2 separate regions of the Homo sapiens genome follow, and region 2 is linked to region 1. The links are contacts of gene promoters, found by promoter capture Hi-C in blood cells and fetal thymus (Javierre and others, 2016). All regions are on one chromosome and are shown on one strand. Each heading gives the region's core, a stretch centred on a gene start or on the middle of the fragment in contact. The rest is flanking DNA. Distances are from core to core; before and after follow the strand shown.

Region 1 (3,766 bases), core at 325-2,824:
TACTCAGCCATAAAAAGGAATGAAATAATGCCTTTTGTAGCAACTTGAATGGAGCTGGAAGCCATTATTCTAAGTGAAGTAACTCAGGAATAGAAAGCCAAATACTGTGTGTTCTTACTTATAAGTGAGAGCTAAGCTATGAGGACACACACACACACACACACACACACAAAACATGCAGAGTGATATAATGGACTTAGGGGACTCGAGGAGGGGGAGACTATGAGGAGGTGAGGGATAAAAGAAAACACATTGCATACAGTATATACTGCTCAAGAGATGGGTGCGCTAAAATCTCAGAATTCACCACCTAAGAATTCATCCATGGAACCAAAAATCATCTGTACCCAAAAAACTATTAACATTTTTAAAAATAATTTTTAAATGTAAATAAGAAAAGAAAAAAGACAGATTCAGAAAATGGTTAACAAAATTCATGAAGTAGAATTATCACAATCAAGAAAACCCAGAAATTTAAGGAGAGGGGCAAATTCCTAATCATGTCAGGGTAAATTTATAGGGGACTAGTTGACTCCTCATTGCCTGTTAGAGATGACTGGGCTAAATTTTGATCCAGGGAGGTAATTCTTTTAACTTCAGTAACTCAGAAAATTCTAGACATTGCCCACAAAACCTTTGCAACCTTCACACTGTGAAGGACAAAGAGAGCACCAAGTGGTAAAAGAAACCATACAAATCTCTCAATCTCTAGTTCTTTAAGACAGTTTGTTTTTAAAAGGGCATTTGTAACAAGAAGTTTTCCAGACATAAGCCAATGATCCACTTATGTCAAACAAAAATGTGACAGCACAAATTTCAGTACATAATGATCTTTCAAAGATAGGCTTCGCTTAATACAAACATGTTCATTAAAGTATTATTCAAAATAATAATATATTGGAAACTACACAGATACTCAACAATATGTGAATGATAGTAAATTATGGCCCATCAATTTAATGAAATAGAATGGAACCACTGAAAATCATGTATATATGTTCAACAGTTGATTCTGTTGATTTTCCCTTACAGTTTCTGGGGTCTGGGTTATCATTGCCTTCCTCGCCCTGAAAATAACATTCTCCAATATTTCTCTAGTATTTTGATGGCTTCCTTCTTATATTTAAATTTCTAATTCCCTAGAAATTTATTTTTGTATATAGACTGAAGTGGAAATCAAACTATTTTCCCAAATTGTTGAGTTAATTATTTCAGAATCGTTTGTTGAATAATATACCCATTTCCTCTCTGATTTCTAAAACAATTACTAAATAATAAATTTATATATTTGTTTCTGAATCCTGTAACCTGCTCTAATGTACATTTTTAAGTCTCATGATTGTTTTAATTCTTATGATAAATGTGTATTAATTTAAAATTTTAATAAGTTACTCTAAATTATATTTGGACTTTCAGCAGTAAAATATTTACAAAAATGCAAGATTTTAGTCAATATTAAAAGTTTTTTAAGCATAAGTTTTATTGTATAAAATGGTGTATTAGTCCATTTTCACACTGGTGATAAAGACATACCTGAGACTGGGTAATATGTAAAGAAAAAGGGGCTTAATGGACTCACAGTTCCACGTGGTTGGGGAGGCCTCACAATCATGGCAGAAGGCAAAAGGCACGTCTTACACGGTGGCAGACAAGACAGAATGAGAACCAAGTGAAAGGGGTTTCCCCTTATGAAACCATCAGCTCTTGTGAGACTTATTCACTAACAGAACTGCATGGGAGAAACTGCCCCCACCATTCAATTATCTCCCACGGGTTCCCTCCCACAACATGTGGGAATTATGGGAGCTATAATTCAAGATGACATTTAGGTGGGGATACAGCCAAACCATATCAAATGGTATCAAGGGAAAATATTGGAGTAAATATATCATGATAGTAACATTATTATAACAATGTGAAACTATCATAAAACCAGACAGAAAGAAATCCTATTAAAAATATAAATTTTGAATGTGATAAAGATGGATTTCAAGTCAGTAGCAGAAAGATGATTATTAAATAAATAGTATTGAATTAACTGAAATACCATTCATAAAAATAAAATAAAATTGGATGTTTATCTCATATCTTATACCAAAATAAACACTAAAGCATTGATGATTTTGTATATAAAATATAAAACCATAGAAGTAACAGAAGAAAATGCAAGGGTATATTTATAGAATTATGGGGTTAAGAAAACTTTTCTAAAGATAACACCAAAAGCAGAAAATAGAAATTTTGAAGAATTTCAACACATAAATACACCTTAACTCATTGGAAACAAAGTTGAAAGATAAATGGAAATCTAGGAAAAACAAATATTTTCAACATATATATCTGACCAAATGTATCAACACCTTTTTTATATGAGCTGTTCTTCAAAATCAAAAAGAAAAAAAGATCATCCTATATGAAAGTAGGTAAAAGTCATAAACAGGAAATAATATAATGGCCAATAATGATAGAAATATAGTTCAACTACAGTTAAAAAAAGAATTGCAAATTAATTAAAATATTATTTTTGTCTTATAGGTTGTCAAGTAAATTTTAAAATATTAAAATTTCCGGTGTTGGCCAGAGTGAGGAGAAAAAATCGCCTCATTTTCTACTGGCAGTAGTGTAATTTGATATTTATCAGATTTTATAAAATATTTATCAAACATATAGGTTCTTTTTGATTCAGCAGTTTTCATCCTAGAAACTCATCTAGTGGAAATTTGCATAGATTTCCTAACGTTATAGGCACTATGTAATAGTAATAATAAAATGGAAACAACCTAAATGTTTCTCAATAGGAGATTGATTAAATGAATTACGGTATAGTCAATTATAAAATACCATTTAATCATTAATTATTGGGTAGAGATATATTTATTGGCAAGGAAATGTGCTCATGATATATTGTTAATTCAAGAAATGAAGTTATTAAAATGGCATGTGTAGTATAATTTCATTTTGTTGGTATGTTTGTACACTTGTATACTCTATATTCACATATATGAAAACATATGCAAGAAAAAAGTCTGAACGGATATACATATGCTTACAGTAATTATTTTCAATTATGGGATTATATTTTTATTTTCATTCTCATATTTCTGAGCCCCTATTATATCCCAGACAGTTTTCTAAAGGCTGAGGTTATAGTAAAAACAAATGAACAAGCTACCTGCCCTCATGAAGCCTACGTTTAAGTTAAAGGGAGATTCTCAATAAAAATGTAAATAACAAGATAGCTTCAAATAGTGATCAATGCTATGAAGAAAAAAAACAAAGCAGATGGCCTAACAGAGAATGACTGGTGTGCAATGGGAGGTAGTTACCTTGTGGTTACGGGGTGAGGGAAGCACTCTCATGAGGAGGTGACTTCTGAACTGAGATGTGAAGACCAGGAAGACACCAGCCTTTCAAAAGCCCTGGGAAGAGCACTCAAGCCAGAGGCAATAAGTGCAAAGGTCCTGAGGCATGAGTGACCCTATGATACACCAGGACTAGCACTAGAAGGAAGCCAAGAGGCCAAAACGTAGCCGATAAAGAGGGTGGTGGAATGAGGAGATGTCTGAGAAACAGGTAGAAGTCATATTTTCTGTGTCCTATGGACTCTGATAAAGTATTTGGATTATTTATAAGTGCAGAGAAGGACATAGAAAGGTGTTCCAACAAGAGTGACCGAATCCATTTAACATTTTAAAAAGAACATTCTTGCTGCTTCCTTATACCTTCTTGAGCTGTTTCAATGGTTCACAATAAGCATGTATGCAGA
Region 2 (3,766 bases), core at 683-3,182, 530 kb before region 1:
GGCTGAGGTAGGAGGATCGCTTGAGCCTAGAAGTTCGAGACCAGGCTGGGCAACGTAGGAAAACACTGTCTCTACAAAAAAATTTTTTAAATTAGCCATCTGTAGGGGCACATGCCTTGGTCCCAGCTACTCGGGAGGCTGAGGTGGGAGGATCGCTTGAGCCCAGGAATTTGAGGCTGCAGTGAGTCATGACCATGCCACTGCACTCCAGCCTGGGCAACAGAGCAAGACTCTGTCTCAAAAAAAAAAAAAAAGTGCAGAGAGGAATTTAATTAATCATATAGTCAGCCTGAGGTATCCATTAGTCCATCAATAAAAACTTCAGAAGACAGTCTGAAGTAAGTCTGGAGTGTAGATGAGATCTGAGCTGTGGAGATAGTCACATCTAGGTAGAAGTGGCCTAGGAAAAAAAGCTTTAATGACATGCCCATAATTTGGGAACAAAGGTGGGCACAGCAATTCTCTGGGAGGTAGCAGAAAAACAGGGGCAAGTGGAATCAAGGAAGCCAAATTAAAAGAGTTTAAGAGAAGACCAGTCAAGAACATTAAACATAGGCCAGGCAGCAGTGGCTCATGCCTGTAATCCCAATGCTTGGGCAGACCGAGGCAGGAGCACTTGAGACCAGGAGTTTGAGACCAGCATGGGCAGCATAGCGAGACTCTGTTTCTAAAAATAAAGAAATTAAGAACATTAAATACAGCAGAAAGGTCACATGAGATGAACTGAAAAATGACCATTGGATTTGGTATTTGTTACTTTACCATTGTGTTGCAATCGTGTGTGAAAAATGGTGATGCTTTGTCATGAATAGAGACTAACAAAATAATAAATGATTTGAAGGACATGCATCTTTTTTGTTTGTTTGTTTTGAGTCAGGGTCTCACTGTGTCACCCAGGCTGAAATGCAGTGGCGCAATCTCAGCTCACGGCAGCCTCGACCTCCCGGACTCGCCATCCTCCCACCTCAACCTCCTGAGTAGCTGGGACCACAGTCACGTGCCACCACACCCAGATAATTTTTGTACTTTTAGTAGAGATAGGGGATGGGGGTGGGAGGTTCACCATGTTGGCCAGGCTGGTGTGGAACTCCCGGCCTCAAGTGATCCGCCCACCCTGGTTTCCCAAAGTGCTGGGATTACAGGCGTCAGCCACCGCCCAGCCCACTCTTTTAATACTAAACATATTATTTTCCCTGAATTAGATGAAATGTTCAATTTAATCTATTTTATCCCACCTTAGCAGGATTTGGAGAATTAAATTCAGCAGCCAAAGATCAGCTCACAACTTCTATCAGCAAACTCACGCACAAACTGTCATTTGTCAGACACTGTGAGGGACGTTATATGGGATACTTCAGCCTTTCTCAGAACTGAGCCATCCACAGTCAAGGTCTTGCAATAGAACCAATTTGAAAAGTCAAGGCTTCTAATCACCCAGACTCACCAAATTCCCAGGGCACTCAGATCTCACGCCCCAACCAAATCACAACTTCACTGTGGTAACCACCACCCACGTGCCCCCGAGCCTCCATGAACTGCCGGCCTCTAGCCTCAAGGAGACTCCTCCACCCAATCACTCCTTGCCTTGAGCTGGCCGGGAGTTTGGCGCGGGGCAGGGAAGGCTGCTGCTGCTGCTGCTCCGGTCGCCCGCAGCTCCTGACGTGCCAGGACAGGTGGATGCAGAGACCACCTGGACCGAAGGGCGGCTCTGTGGAGTCTCCTGGAGTCCGAAATTGTAGCGGGGACCCTGAGGTGAGCGGGTTTCTCCCGACGACGGGGAAACCGCCGGGGCAGAAGGCGAGGTTGATGAGATCTCAGGCCTCAGCATCCTCCCAAACCTTCCCTGACCCGAGAAGTATGAGGTTTCTGAGCGACCCCTCCAGTAGCCCAACTACAGAAGCTGCGCCGCTGAAACGGGCGGGAGAACTGCGCGCCGACGCACTAAGCTGCACTGCGCAGGCGCAGGCAGGCTCAGCTTTCCACATGGATTCACGTACTTCAGGTCTATGACCCTGCTTCCAGCCATTCCCAAACCCATCACTTTCCACATGAACCTCACTGGAACATCCTCAGCCTGCAGGTATCAGACTGACCAGAACTCTGCAAGGCCCATCAATGACCACCCGATTTGTTAGCCCCATTATTCTCACAGCACCCAATCTCCCTTATTGCAAATGTTACATGCATTTCCCACACGTCCAAGCACACTAGCTTATCTTTAAATGTAGAAACCACCCAACACAGTACACCCAGTGCCTTTGACACAATGAGAACGTGTAATGCTCACACAGCATAACCCACCTAAGGTTGATCTTGTGACCAAATATAGGAAAGATAGTTATATTATCAAAAGATAGTATGCACATGGCTGTGTGCATAGTAGAGTAGGAAACAGGGAAAGACTGACTGGGTAAGATCTCTCAGTTAACAATTCCCCATCTACCAATTTCTAGTACTGTGGTTTCTAACATATAAATCAGTTAATGGCACACTAGAAGTTCAAACTCCAGCTTTGCAGTGGTGACCTTTAGAAAATTCCTTAAATAAGGCCAATAGTACCAACTTACCAGAGATCCATGGATTAAACATGACGAAATTATCTGGATACTGCCATACAGAAGCTATTAGAAGACATTAATTTACACCACTACTGAAATCCTGCCACTGTTGAGTATCTCAATAAACCAGTTATGCACAGCGGTTTACCCACATGCAGTGACAACAGTCCTTAAGAACATCTCTGTTCTTGGAATGATTATTGCACAGGGCATTCCAAACATACTTGAGAAAAATCTCAATTTCCATCAAAAAACCTTATTTTCAGATCGGGCACGATGGCTCCTCCCTGTAATCCCAGTACTTTGGGAGACTGAGGCCAGAGGATTACTTCACCTCCGGAGACCAGCCTGGGGAAGACAGTGCCTGTCCCCAAAATTAAGAAATCAGCTGGGCATAGTGGGCATGGTGGCAGGTACCTGTAGACCCTGGTACTCAGGAGGCTGAGGTGGAAGGACTGCTTGAGCCCAGGAGTTTAAGGTTACAGTGAGCTGTGATTGCACTACTATGCCCCAGCCTGGGGAAGAAAGGAAGACCCTGTCTCTAAAAAATAAAATTTAAAAATAGAGAATACCTCACTTTCACCAAAACTGTAAACCCCTAGAGTGATTGTACTCATTTTAGGCCAGGCGTGGTGGCTCACGCCTGTAATCCCAGCACTTTGGGAGGCCGAGGTGGGTGGATCACAAGGTCAGGCTGGTCTCCAGCTCCTCAGCATGGTGAAACCCTGTCTGTACTAAAGTAACATAAAAATTAGCCGGGCATGGTGGTGTGCGGCTGTAGTCCCAGCTACTCGAGAGGCTGCGGCTGAATTGCTTAAACCCGGCAGACGGAGGTTGCAGTTAAGCTGAGATCGTGCTGCTGCGCTCCAGCCTGGGCAACAGAGATTCTGTCACAAAAAAATAAAAAAGAGTGATTGTACCCATTTTAGCTTTTTAAGAAAAAGACAGGTGCAAAAAAATACTGTGGTGACCATCAACTTACCCGTTAGTGTTTCCTTATTTGAAGACAACTCCTTCTTTGGGTAATTCTGATATATAAAATGCTAAAAAAAAAAAAAAAAAAAAAAAAAAAAAGGACAGTCCGAATCACAACCCCATTTTAAGATGGTAGATTGCCATTTAACCTAAGTCTGTGACCAATTCAGAATAACCATATTCAAACCTATCAATCATTTCCAAATTTCAACAGCCATTTATTTTGTGCATCA

What was found. Contacts are between HindIII fragments. The CHiCAGO score rates a contact against its expected background, and 5 or more counts as called.
Region 2: the fragment with the promoter of MSH4 here is called in contact with a fragment that was not itself captured in region 1 in 1 of 17 cell types (M1 macrophages); the score reaches 5.8 in M1 macrophages.

The regions. Positions count from the first base shown.
Region 1 is chr1:75,267,903-75,271,668 of GRCh38, reverse strand. The region is part of intron 6 of SLC44A5 (solute carrier family 44 member 5); the gene reads left to right. Among named protein-coding and RNA genes, the nearest start is that of LHX8, 140 kb to the right of the region's middle. The HindIII fragment of the contact is 4,411 bases long and covers 1-3,766 here.
Region 2 is chr1:75,795,048-75,798,813 of GRCh38, reverse strand. It overlaps MSH4 (mutS homolog 4), which reads right to left and starts at 1,932. Exons shown (of 20, transcript NM_002440.4): 1 at 1,585-1,932. The coding sequence starts at 1,828. It overlaps RABGGTB (Rab geranylgeranyltransferase subunit beta), which reads right to left. Exons shown (of 9, transcript NM_004582.4): 9 at 3,728-3,766. The HindIII fragment of the contact is 6,934 bases long and covers 416-3,766 here.